Linked DNA regions of Homo sapiens: all the other regions are linked to region 2. Evidence: promoter capture Hi-C in 16 types of primary human blood cells and fetal thymus (Javierre and others, 2016). All regions are on one chromosome and are shown on one strand. Each heading gives the region's core, a stretch centred on a gene start or on the middle of the fragment in contact. The rest is flanking DNA. Distances are from core to core; before and after follow the strand shown. Region 1 has its middle 30 kb from the start of OR9A4. Region 2 holds the start of MGAM2 (maltase-glucoamylase 2 (putative)). Region 3 has its middle 21 kb from the start of PRSS37.

What was found. The method cuts DNA at HindIII sites, captures the fragments that hold promoters and counts their contacts. A CHiCAGO score of 5 or more calls a contact.
Region 1: a fragment that was not itself captured here is called in contact with the fragment with the promoter of MGAM2 in region 2 in 1 of 17 cell types (M1 macrophages); the score reaches 5.0 in M1 macrophages.
Region 3: a contact is called between a fragment that was not itself captured here and the fragment with the promoter of MGAM2 in region 2, in 1 of 17 cell types (monocytes). The highest score is 6.2, in monocytes.

What each region holds. Positions count from the first base shown.
Region 1 is chr7:141,884,351-141,888,501 of GRCh38, reverse strand. It overlaps the pseudogene OR9A1P. Among named protein-coding and RNA genes, the nearest start is that of OR9A4, 30 kb to the left of the region's middle. The HindIII fragment of the contact is 174 bases long and covers 2,257-2,430 here.
Region 2 is chr7:142,109,704-142,114,320 of GRCh38, reverse strand. It overlaps MGAM2 (maltase-glucoamylase 2 (putative)), which reads right to left and starts at 2,603. Exons shown (of 48, transcript NM_001293626.2): 1 at 2,514-2,603. The HindIII fragment of the contact is 17,675 bases long and covers 1-4,617 here.
Region 3 is chr7:141,860,620-141,865,202 of GRCh38, reverse strand. It overlaps the pseudogene OR9A3P. Among named protein-coding and RNA genes, the nearest start is that of PRSS37, 21 kb to the right of the region's middle. The HindIII fragment of the contact is 4,653 bases long and covers 970-4,583 here.

The sequences.
Region 1 (4,151 bases), core at 1,094-3,593, 230 kb after region 2:
GATCAAGCCACTGCACTCCAGTCTGGGCGACAGAGCGAGACTCTCTCTCAAAAAAAAAAAAAAGAAAAGAAAAGAAACAAAGAAAGAAAGAAAATATATCACACTTCTCTTGTTTTTCCCATTATCAGGACCAAGGGTTCAAAACATTGAACATCTTTCAGATGTTTACACTTCTCACATTTATTTTGCAACATGCATTATAAGTACAGAGGGCTAATAAATGTATACATCTATTTATTTTTTAAACGATGTATTAAAAGAATTTAATACAAAATGAAGCCATGTCATAGCTTAAATATCCATTGTAGATCATGAGCTGTTTGATTTTGAGAATGATCATTTTGTTTCAATTAGTACTATCAGATTACTCAAATCCATGATGAGGATTTGAACTGTACTCAGGACAGACTTAATTTTTAAGGAGTTTATAGCAGTGTTTCATGCCATCTCCAAAGGCCTGTATGAATTTGTCATTCCTCAGGGTGAAGATAAAAGGGTTCAGAAAAGGGGTCACCACTAAAACCAGCAGTGACACTACCCTGTTATACTCGGCTGCCTGCGTTTACTTGGGTTTCACGTAGAGAAACAAGCAGCTGCCATAGCCAATCACAACATAGGTGAAGTGGGAGGCACAGGTGGAAAAGGATTTCCTCCAGCCAGAGGCTGACGGAATCTTGAGGTTGGTGGAGATGATGTAGGTGTAGGAGACAATCGTAGGGATCAAAGAACCAATGATAATGAAAACAGCCATTAGAAAAAGAATAAACTCTCTGAAAAGAGTGTCCTCACAGGATACCTTGAGCAATTGTCCTCGGTCACAATAAAAATGATCTAACACACTTGATTTGCAGAAAGTAAGCTGAAAAGTGGCATAAACTGGCCAGATTTCAGAAAGAAACCCCAAAACCCATGACACAATTATCACCCAAATGAAGGTGCTGCTGTTCATAATGATGTTGTACCTCAAAGGGTTACACACAGCCACATAACGGTCCACAGCCATCACTCCCATTAATGCCAACTCCAAGGTACCCAAAGAAAGGTATAAATATAGCTGTGCAGCACAGGCTGTCAAAGACATGATCTGGGTGCTTGGAAGCAGCAACCCCCAGAGCATAAAAGGGACAGCGGTGGATGTGATCAGGATCTCCAGGACACAGAGGTGGCCCAGGAAAAAATAAATGGGGGACTGCAGACATTTATCAACACAGACAGTGATGATGATGACCACGTTTCCCATCACTGTCACTGCATACAAGAGGAAGAAGGTCGCAAATAGGATACGGCATACTTCTTGGGAGCCAGGGAAGCCTAAGAGAAAAAATTCAGTGGCGCTAGAGTAATTCCCCAACATTTACTTCTGAGTGCTTTTCCCTTCTGAAATCTAGAGAAAAAAAAAAGAGTTAATATGGCTTCTCATCGCAACAGAAGTAGAAACTGTTCTGAAATCCCCCTCCTGCTCACAGGCTGCACAGCATGACTAGAATGGTAGGCATTTGTCTTCTACTATTCCCTGTATATGGTCAGGCGCGATTTTTCTTTTCTTTTCTTTTCTTTTTTTTTTGAGATGGAGTTTCACTCTTGTCACCCAGGCTGGAGTGCAATAGCATGATCTCAACTCACTGTAACCTCCACTGTAACCTCCTAGGTTCAAGAGATTCTCCTGCCTCAGCCTCCCGGCTAGCTGAGATTACAAGCATGTGCCACCATACCCAGCTAATTTTTTTGTATTATTAGTAGAGATGGGGTTTCACCATGTTGGCCAGGCTAGTCTCAAACTCGTGACCTCAGGTGATCCACCCGTTTCGGCCTCCCAAAGTGCTGGGATTATAGGTGTGAGCTGCCACGCCTGGTTTAGGGGCAATTTTTCTAACTATGCACAATATGCCAAGAAAATTGAGTTGGCCAAGAAGATGATCCCAGTCCCCAGTGCCATACCTTAGACATGAGAGCCTATACCCTGCCCAGCATGCACCATTGCACCCTCAATGCTCAGTTTACCTGCCTCCCACTCTGCTCTGAACAGCCAGCAGTCAGCCTCCAGGACCACAGTGTATTCATTTCTACCACTAACTCCCTTCCACCTGGAAGGTCCTAAACTACTCTGTCTGCCAAGTATTTTCTGTCCTGTAAATTCCTGCTCCAGTATCATGTTCTATACAAAAGTTTTCCTGGCCAACACCCCTGAGCTGGCTACTTGATTTCTTTGTTTCATCAGAATGTAGGTTCCATTTACAGGATGTTTATTTTAAAGCTTCTGCCTTACCTTCATCATCATTGCTGTGCGTTGGTGAGAGTGAGGGTAGGGAAGTTTCCTGAGGAGTTTCTATAAATTCTCGAGGGCAAGGACTGAGTATCTCTCAATCTACTAGTCAGCTGGTTCCCTGCATGGATTACTCCTTTCTTCCTCCCTATCTTGGGAAGAAAGCTTCCCTTGCTCCTGTCCTCAGTAAATGTGTCTTCTCACAGAAGGCAGGCAACCAGCACCTGGGCTGAGTTGAGCCTGACCATCTCTCTCTAAGACTCTGACAACTCTTTCCACTGTTCTTAGAGAAAGAAAATTCAGGCGAAATACAGAGGAAAAACTTTTATCCTCAGACTCTAACTGTCCCACACTGAACTTATGCTGGCTCTGACAAATAGGAGACTTTAGTCCCATTTCAACATCCTCTGGCTTCAGGATAATCCAAAGCCCTGGATCCATCAGGAGACCAAAACCACCAAGTGTGACATCTGGGTTCAGCCCATGTCCTAAATACAGATGGCTTTGGTCTCGGTCTAACAGTAAATTTAGGAAGTCACCTCAGGGCCTATATTTCTTCTATGAACACATTCCTCTCCCAAAATCATATTAGAAATTGAAGATTCCACTGTCACTCACATGAAACAGACCCTGCATCCTGAGTAACTTAGAATTCCTGGGCTTTATTTATCACTTCTTTCAGGTTTTTGGTCAAGTATCTGAGTTCAAATTTTCTCTTCATTCTGTCTAAAAGAACACACACAACCCTTCACTCTCTATCACCTCATCAGAATATATTTATCTTTTTAGCGCTCATCATGAGAAATTATATGTTTACTTTTTATTTTCTGACTCATTTTACAATGTAAGCACCACGAAAGCAAAAAGATTGTAATTTTTATTCACTATATCTCATACAGAATGAGGTGGTACTACTTTTGAGTGAATCAATGAATTGATCAATTAAAGAATGAATCTGTGAACAAAGCCCCTCCAAATCAGGCTATAGCCAATGCTAAAAGAAACTGCTTTCTCTCCCTTCTGTCTTCACTGAGACAGTGATCAGTCATAATTCAGTCCTCTCTCTGAGACCCCTTATAAAATGGCAGTTGGGTAACAAGTACAGACTTGACGGAAGAGCTCAGTAGAGTGATTTCCACAATCTCTCTTTACCCAGAACCAGATGAAAAGAAAGTAGAGATGATGTCAAGGATGGTTTTGACAATAGCAAGGAGTTGTACTGCATCCAGCAATGAATCAGAGAAGAAGTGAAAGTGCTCTCTACTGTACAGGGGGAATTTGGAGATGAGCCAATCTCCTTTGCCTCTCTCATAGCTTACCCATTAGGGTCTGAATGCCCTTGCTCTAGAAAGTTGGCAGGTCTAAAACTTTCCATCCTGAACCTCTCTCACTCTTTTCTACACAGATGGAAACTGCTGGAATTCACTTACCTTCAAAGAAATTGAAGTGAAAAGCCATATGACTCTAAGTCTCAACCCAGACTACATCATGCCTGATTAGTGCTGAGACTGCTCTGTGGCCCAGAAGAAGCTACGACTTCCTCCCTCTCGGTGAACGAGAAAACTGTCTTCACATATGTATTTAGGAAAAGGTCCAGAAATCATAGTGCCATGGAATGCCCCACAGTTTCTCTCTTTCTCTCTCCCTCTGTCTTTTCTTCTTCAACGTGTCTCTAAGGAATGTTATTCATTGAGGAAAGTTAGTTCAGAAAAACCCTAGGGATGCAGGGAAGGAGAAAACAAAGGAAGTTTCAGATCTTCCCTCCTGAGGCTAATCAAGATTTAGAACTCCTAGAAGTTTGGTATAATGAGCAAAGTTAAAATCTTCCTCATCAAGAGTGTCCCAACATCCAGGTTTCTTTTTGCTACACATTGAATCCAGGTTAGCA
Region 2 (4,617 bases), core at 1,354-3,853:
AACTTTCCACATATGGATTCCTTGATAGGAATCTTGGCTTTCCACCTCTATTTCTGGCTTATCTTCAATATTCTTTGTAGTCTCCTATTTCTTTCTTTCTTTCTCTCTTTCTTTCTTTCTTTCTTTCTTTCTTTCTTTCTTTCTTTCTTTCTTTCTTTCTTTCTTTCCTTCTTTCTTTCTTTCTTTTTTTGAGATGGAGTCTCGCTCTGTTGCCCTGGCTGGAGTGCAGTGGCGCGATCTCGGCTCACCGCAACCTCCGCCACCCAGGTTCAAGTGATTCTCCCGCCTCAGCCCCGCGAGTAGCTAGGACTACAGGCACCCGCCATCATGCCCAGCTAATTTTTATATTTTTGTAGAGACAGGGTTTCACCATGTTGGCCAGGTTGGTCTTGAACTCCTAACCTCAGGTGATCCGCCCGCCTTGGCCTCCCAAAATGCTAGGATTACCTGCGTGAGGCACCACGCTCAGCCCTATTTCATTAAATGTTGATGCCCCCCAAATTCTGGTATAGGCTTCTTTTTTAAACTACGCAGACACGTTGGGTAATCTCCACCACTCATGTGACTTTATATGACATGTGATGGCAATCCAACCTGTATTTCTAGCCCAGGGATTTAGATTCATATATTCAACTGCCTATTGGATGTCCCACAGATTCAATAAGATTTAACATGTTTAAACATGAAATCATCTCTCCCCACACCTCACTCCCAGTTCCTGCCAATTTGGCCAAATTATCTGTTCTTCAAATAATTAATAACTTGAGGAATAGAATCACATTATAAAAAAAAAACCTAGGAATCTTTTTTTAATTCCTCTCATTCTGTTAGTTCTCACAGCCAGTTAACAGTTCAGTCAGACTACTTTCCCGGTATCTTTGGGTCATTACCCAAGTGACCAGCACAAACAGGGTCATTTGGATCTCCTATATTCAAGCCTTTAATGGATCTCTGAATAAACCAAAAACCCTTTAGCTTTGTGATCAAAGGTCTTCATGGCACGTCCTAACCCCAGCTGCTCAGCGTCTCCTCTCCCCATATTCCCACCATACTAAACCAGCACTTATGCAGCAACAAGCTATTAAATATAAGTCAGCAGGGACAAAGACTGTTCTCTCTCTTATTTTTATGTTGATTTTGCATCTCCTCTTACTTTTCATTTCCCTGCCTCCCTGCTCTTCTCAACTCCTCCCCAATGCCACGACCATTTCTACAAATATTTTTATATAGGTATATAGCTTCAATTTTTAATTACAGTAGCCTTTAGGTTAATGTGTAATAATTCCATAAAAGAAGCACTTTAATATTGAAATAGAGGTAAGGAACTAGGACCTACAGGTAATTTGCCAACAGGCATTTAGGAAGAACCCTTAGCCCTTGGAGACACGAGGTTTGGGATTAAAATTGAGGTTTATTAACTATTCTTTACTATTTACCTAAATTAATCAGTTGTCTCTCTTTTAGTCTAAATTATTTAAAAGATATACTCTAATCCCTATAAAATATATATCATATGACTGTATTCTCATAAAATCCCTGCATTGAAGCTGATCAGACAGATATCATGATTTCCATTTTATAGATGAATATTAAGAAATTTTGTCTAGTCACGGTTAGTGGTGGAACTGAGACAAACACCGAGAGCCGCTACTTTTTAAAATAGTACTTGAATACTCTCTCGACAATGTATCCTAGGCTGCAGAGCTTAAAGACTTAGAGGATCGGTCTCCAATGGTGGAATTTCAGGTAGAGAAAGAAGTAGGAAGGACCTACCCTAAGAGTGCTATGGTATCAAACTTCGTTTCTTATACATACAGCCCACAACTCAATACCACAGCAAAGGCATTATTCATCAATTGGTCTCTTTCTGCAAGTATTATTTCTCTCCACAGGGAGACTTTTTTCTTTCTAGCTTCTAAAAATCAGCAGCAGGGACCTACTCCACAGCTCCTCAATCCTCCTGAGGGAGCAGGTTCAGCACCTTAGCTCAGGAAGTACAGGAACGCTCTGGGAATAACCCTGGGTATTTTCCTGCCTTAGGAGCTATTGTCATTCAGGCAGAGGACAGGATGGGGATTCCTAAAGGTAGAAATTCTTGCCTACTTAGAAACCCTTCCTGCCCAAAGCTGGGAGGAATTCACCTTCCTCCAAATCCATGCCATCTTGAGATAGTTTCCAGAAGGATCCCATCTGTTTCCTCTGTCCTTAATTTCTCCCAGTGAGAGAGGAGGATCTCACACCAGACCTCCCCCAACCTGTCCTCCAAACACTGACACCACACACACACACACACACACACACACACACACACACACACACACAGTCTCTCCTCTCCATCAACTATCTCATCCTCACTCCTCATATTTTATGGAAAAGGAAGAAAATATTAAGTCCAGAAGGAAAACATGGGCATCCAGATCACTTAACAGAGCAGCAGACAGAAAATCACACAAAAAGAAAGGGACCTTCCTGCCCTTGTTCAAAGCCCTGCTTGCATGGAGAAGCGTACTCACCGCATCACCTTGTTTTTTTCTATGCTGTATCTCTCCCTCAGCAATTCATAGGGAGCACTGAGCAAAGGTAACTGGGCTGAGGTAGCCAGCTTCTGCCACAATTAATTTATTGCCTTATAAAGTTGACAGCAACTGGAGGAGGGGAGTGCATATTCCAATAGGTCATAAAAGAACGCTTGTTCTCCATGTGACACAGAATGAAAGCTCCTTTTGTTAATAAAAGGGGAAGGTGGTTTTTTTTCTACTCATTGTCCCTCTTCTGTATCCCTGTTCATATCTGATTACTTGTCACGTTATGTTTCCTCATCTATACATGTAGCCTAAAGGGCTCAAGAGCTAGGGTCTTGTCTATCTTCTTCACTGTTGTATCTCCTGTGCTTAGCACTCTGCCCAATATCCATAGTTCTTTTTAAATATATAGCTATTTATTTAATAAGTAAGTGAAAGAAGGATTAGCTCTTAGTTCATCACTTTGTTCTTTTCTCCATTTTCATCCTCCAGAGTTCTCTTGGTATAACTCAGCTTTTCATTAATTCAAATGATCCTTTCCACCAATTATTCTAAATAGTGAAGTACCATTAAAGTAGCAATTATACAAACCCGTCCAGGTGCAGTGGCTCACACCTGTAATCCCAGCACGTTGGGAGGCCGAGGTGGGCGGATCACCTGAGGTCAGGAGTTTGAGACCAGCCTGGCCAACGTGGTGAAACCCCATCTGCACAGCCAGGCATGGTGGCAGGCGGCTGTAATCCCAGCTACCCAGGAGGCTGAGGCAGGAGAATCGCTTGAACTCAGGAGGTGGAGCTGGCAGTGAGTTGAGATTGCCCTATTGCACTCCAGCCTGGACAACGAGAGCAAAACTCCATCTCAAAAAAAATAAAAGAGAAAGAATGTATACAAACCTAAAGTGGGAAGATGCCTCTAGTGGACATTTGTCATGTTCTTCGATGGCTCAGCATCTTTCAAAACCTCTTGCTAAGATGGGGGAGGTGGGGAGGGAGACAAAGGTAGTAACACTACCTATTGGGTACTATACTCACTACCTAGGTGACAGGTTCAATCACACCCCAAACCTCAGCATCACACAATATACCCTTGAAATGAACCTGTATATGCACCCTGAATCTTAGACCCTGAATCTAAAATAAAAGTTGAAAAAAATTTAAAAACGGAGGATCTTTCTTTAAAAAGAAAAAGAAAACCTCTTACTTAAATCAACTTAAGGACTTTTTCTCCAAATTCTGCCTCCCCAAAGAAACAGCTAGAAATTCTCTTTCACAGCCTTTCTTTCATCCAAGGTAGAGGCAAGTGGCTGGAGCTTTGTGAATGAGATATTCCTGTGAGTGACTTACATCCAGAAGAAGGTGTAGATAAGGAGGTACCATGTAAAATCCAGGATGTTGGAAGCATAGCTCGTTTCAGAGGCAGCAGGGACAAGAGACCTAGTGGCATCCTATGCTCAGTATTTGGGGTTGCGAGCTGCCAGATATGTGCTCAGGGCAGTGGCAGTAGAAACCGCTACAGGGTAACCTGGGGCTTGTCCCTAGCCACATGGCCTACAAACCTGACTCTCTAGTCCTACCGGAGTTTCAATGAGTCACCAATATCTTTTTAAAATTTTTCTTAAGCCAGCTAAAGTGGATTTTTAAATTGACATATAATTTCCAAACCATAAGATTCACTCTTTTAAAGTATACAATTCAGTGTTTTTAAAAATATATTTACAAAATTCTGAAACTATCACCACTATCTAATTCCAGAACATTTTTGCCACCCCCAAAAATAATTAGTGGTCACTCCCCATTCCCATCTCCCCCTGTTTCTGCAGCCACTAACCTACTTTCTGTCCTTATGGATTTGCCTATTGTGAACATTTCATATAAATGCAGTAATACAATATGTGGCCATCTGTGTCTGGCTTCTTTTACTTGGCATGATATTTTCAAAGTTCATCCACACCATTTCAGGTATCAGTGTCTGTTCCTTTCCATGTCTGGATAGTATCCACTGCGTGGATAGACCACATTTTGTTTAGGCATGTATCAGCTGATATACATCTAGGTTGTTGATACTTTTTGCCTGTTATGAACGATGCTGCTATGAG
Region 3 (4,583 bases), core at 2,047-4,546, 250 kb after region 2:
CTGGTTTCCCTCCTAGGCATTTCTTCATGCAACTATACCCAAATAGAAATATAAACAGAGTTTTGCTTTGTTCTTACAAAAAGGAAACACATAAAAAAATTGGTCTACTCTTTGCTTTTCTTTCTCAACTGTGTACCCTGAAGTACTTTCTTGTAATGACAAAGAAAACTTCCTCATTCTTCCTACAGTTATGTAATGTTCAACTGAATGAAAGTGCCATAAATCATATGAGTAGTCACCTTTTGATGTCCATTTAGGTTGCTCCAAACATGTGTAATCACTTGTGTAAGAATGCAGAAGAAATCTGTGTCATGCAATACAGAAATATTAATTGAGAATAGTGGGTATGACAGGAACAAGGGAGACGATGGGGCAACACAGAAACTGAGATATAAGGATTAAGGGAGCTCACTGTGGAGCTAGAAGGTGGCTTGATAAACTTGGTTTTTGTGAGTGAATGAAGGGGGAAAAGGAACAAAGAGATGAATCTGGTACTAACAGAGAGAGAGAGAATAAATGAAATTAATAAAGAAACTGAGCAGGAAGTGGGATAGCAAAGGGAACATGGAGGGTGAATGTACCATGTCAAGATTGAAGAATGTGTGAGACAGAAAAAGGGGCCACAGGCCACCTGTCCCTCTGCCCTCTCTCCAATCCACCCTCAGCCCAAGGACACCGCAAAGCCATCTATCCCTTATCACATCGCCTTCCAGAACATACCTCCATTGCGCTCCCTCATTTGATGTTGGCGACGTTAGGTAAAAAAAAATGTTTCTTTCTAAAACCTTTCATCTATGGCTAAGAAGGTGCACAAATTAGGGTTAAACCTGTATCAAAACACATTCATTCTGAAGATTGCTAAGCAGTCAGTATGGGGGAGTGAGTTCACTGTCACAACTTCCAGTCAGAAAACCCATAGAAAGTTACTATCACCATTGAATATTGGAGGCAGGAACTACATTGAAAGCTTGAGGGTGGACCACAGGTCACTGAGAGACACAATAGTGAGGCTTACACGATGAGAACACACCATGAAACCATAAGGCAATAAAGGGGAAGATAATTCTGGCATCTAGAATCAAATTAGTACAGCAGACATCAGATAAATCACATTTCTTGCTTTTCCCATTCACAGTCTGAGAGTTCTAAAATCTTCATGTATTTCAGATGTTTACACTTGTCATATTTATTTTGGGACATGTATTTATATACATTAAAAAGAATAAATTGATGTATTTATTCTTTTTAATGAAGTCACCCAATAATGAATTGAAGCACTGTCTATGCCCTAAATGTTCTTTGTAGATTACAAACTATTTGATGATGAAAACTGTCATTTTAGATTTAAATTAGTACCTTCAGATTACTGAAGTCCATGATAAGGATTGTCCCCAGGACAGAGCTAAATTCTGAGGAGTTGATAGCAGTGTTTCATGCCATCTCCAAAGGCCTGTATGAATTTGTCATTCCTCAGGGTGAAGATGAAAGGGTTCAGAAAAGGGGTCACCACTAAAACCAGCAGTGACGCTATCCGGTTATACTTGGCTGCCTGTGTTTGCTTGGGTTTCGTGTAGAGAAACAAGCAGCTGCTGTAGCCGATCACAACACAGGTGAAGTGGGAGGCACAAGTGGAAAAGGATTTCCTCCAGCCAGAGGCTAACGGGATCTTGAGGATGGTGGAGATGATGTAGGTGTAGGAGACAATCGTAGGGATCAAAAGAACCAATGATAATGAAAACAGCCATTAGAAAAAGAATAAACTCTGTGAAAAGAGTGTCCTCACAGGATACCTTGAGCAATTGTCCTCAGTCACAGTAAAAATGATCTAACACATTTGATTTGCAGAAAGTAAGCTGAAAAGTGGCATAAACTGGCCAGATTTGAAAAAGGAACCCAAACACCCATGATACAATGACCATCCAGACACATGTGCTGCTGTTCATAATGATGTTGTACCTCAAAGGGTTACACACAGCCACATAATGGTCCACAGCCATCACTCCCATTAATGCCAACTCCGAGGTACCCAAAGAAAGGTATATAGCTGTGCAGCACAGGCTGTCAAAGACATGATCTGGGTGCTTGGAAGCAGCAACCCCCCAGCATAAAAGGGGCAGCGGTGGATGTGATCAGGATCTCCAGGACACAGAGGTGGCCCAGGAAAAAATACATGGGGGACTGCAGATGTTTATCAACACAGACAGTGACGATGATGACCGTGTTTCCCATCACTGTCACTGCGTACAAGAAGAAGAAGTTCACAAAAAGGATACGGCGTACTTCTTGGGAGCCAGGGAAGCCTAAGAGAAAAAATTCAGTGGCGCTAGAGTAATTCCCCAACATTTACTTCTGAGTGCTTTTAACTCATGAAATCTAGAAAACAAAAGAGAGTTAATACGGCTTCTCATCTTAACAGAATTAGAAACTGTTCTGCAATCCCCCTCCTGTTCACAGGCCACACACCATGACTAGAATGGTAGGCATTTGTCTTCTACTATTCCTGTATATGGTCAGTGGCAATTTTTCTAAATATGTACAATGTGTGAGGAAAATTGAGTTGGTCATGAAGATGATCCCAGTCCCCAGTGCCATACCTTAGACATGAGAGCCTATACCCTGCCCAGCATGCACCATTGCACCCCCAATGCTCACTTCACCTGCCTCCCTCTCTGCTCTGAACAGCCAGCAGTCAGCCTCCAGGACCACAGTGTGTTCATTTCTACCACTAACTCCCTTCCACCTGGAAGGTCCTAAACTACTCTGTCTGCCAAGTATTTTCTATCCTGTAAATTCCTGCTCCAGTATCATGTTCTATACAAAAGTTTCCCTGCCAACGCCCCTGAGCTGGTTACTCGATTTCTTTGTTTCATCAGAATGTAGGTTCCATTTACAGGATGTTTATTTTAAAACTTTTGCTTTACCTTCATCATTATTGCTGTGTGTTGGTGAGAGTGAGGGTATGGAAGTCTCCTCCTGAGGAGTATCTGTAAATTTTCAAGGGCAAGGACTGAGGATCTCTCAATCTACTGGTCAGCTGGTTCCCTGCATGGATTACTCCTTTCTTCCTTCCTATCTTGGGGATGAAAGCCTCCCTTACTTTTGTCCTCAGTGAATGTGTCTTCTCACAGAAGGCTGACAAACCACACCTGGCCTGAGTTGAACCTGGCCATCTCTCTCTAAGACTCTGACAACTCTTTTCATCATTGCGAGAGAAGAAAGATTCAGACAGAATATAAAGGAGGAACTTTTATCCTCAGCCTCTCTCTGTCCCACTTTGACCTCATACTCGGACTGGCAAACAAAAGGATTTAGGTCTACAGACCTTGCCTCTAGGAGAGCTCAAAGCCACCAAGTGTGACTTCCAGGTTCAGCCCAGGTCCTAAATATCGAGGCTATGGTCTCATTCTATTAGAAAGGTTGGGATGTATCCTCAATGTTCCTTATATAATCACATTTTTCTCCCAAAATCATACCAGAAATTAAAAAGTCAGCTGTCACTAACGTAAAATAGACCCCATTTCCTGAGTACCTTAGAATTTCTGGGCTTTATCCCTTACTTCCTTCAGGTCTTTGCTTAAGTGTCCAAGTTCAGGGAAACTGTCCTCATCATTCTGTCTAAAAAAACACATACTATCCTTCACTCGCTATCTCCTCACTGAGATCTACTTTTCTCTTTAGCCTTCATCACTTGAAATTGTATGTTTACGTTTTGTTTATTTTGTCATTCATTTTACAATGTAAGCACCATGAAAGCAAGAAGATTGTCATTCTTGTTCATTGTGTCTCATGATCTAGTATTATTTCTGAATGAATTAAATGAATTCATCAATTAAAGGATGAATCTATGGTCAGAGCCTATGCACACTTGGCTATGGCCAATGTTGAAGCAGCTGCTTTCTCTCCCTTCTGTCTTCACTGACACAGTGCCCAGTCATCATTCAGTCCTCTCTCTGAGACCTCTTGTAAAATGATATTTGGGTAACAAGGATCAACTCGATAGAAGAACTCAGTCCGAATTCCCACAATCTCTGCTTACGTGGGACCCAGTAAAAAGAAAGGAGAGATGATGGTTCTAACAATAGCAATGACCTGTGCCTATGTCAAGCACTGAGTCAGAGAATAGTTGAAAGTGCTTTCTGCTATGCAAGAAGAATTTGAAGATGAGCCTATTACTCTTTAATAAAATCTGAGTGTCCTCATCCTAGAGGGCAAACAGGCCCAGAACGTTCTATTCTGAGCCTCTCCTAGTTTCTCCTTCACAGAGCAGAACTCCTGGAAAACACTCATCTCCAGAGAAATACCCTGAAGTGAAAAGTTGAATGGCTCTCTAGGACTCGACCCAGGCTGCCTCCTGACTGATTAGTGCTGAGATTGCTCTGTGGGCCAGAGGAAGCTGCTGCTTCTTCACTCTCAGTGAAAGAGAAAACTGACTTCACACAAACACTGAGGAGAAAGTCTAGAAATCATAATGCCATGGGATGCCCCACTGTTTCCCTCTTTCTCTTTCCCTCCTTCTTTCACTCTGCAATGCATCCCTAAGTAATATTATTCACTAAGGAAAGTTAGTTCAGGGAAACCCTAGG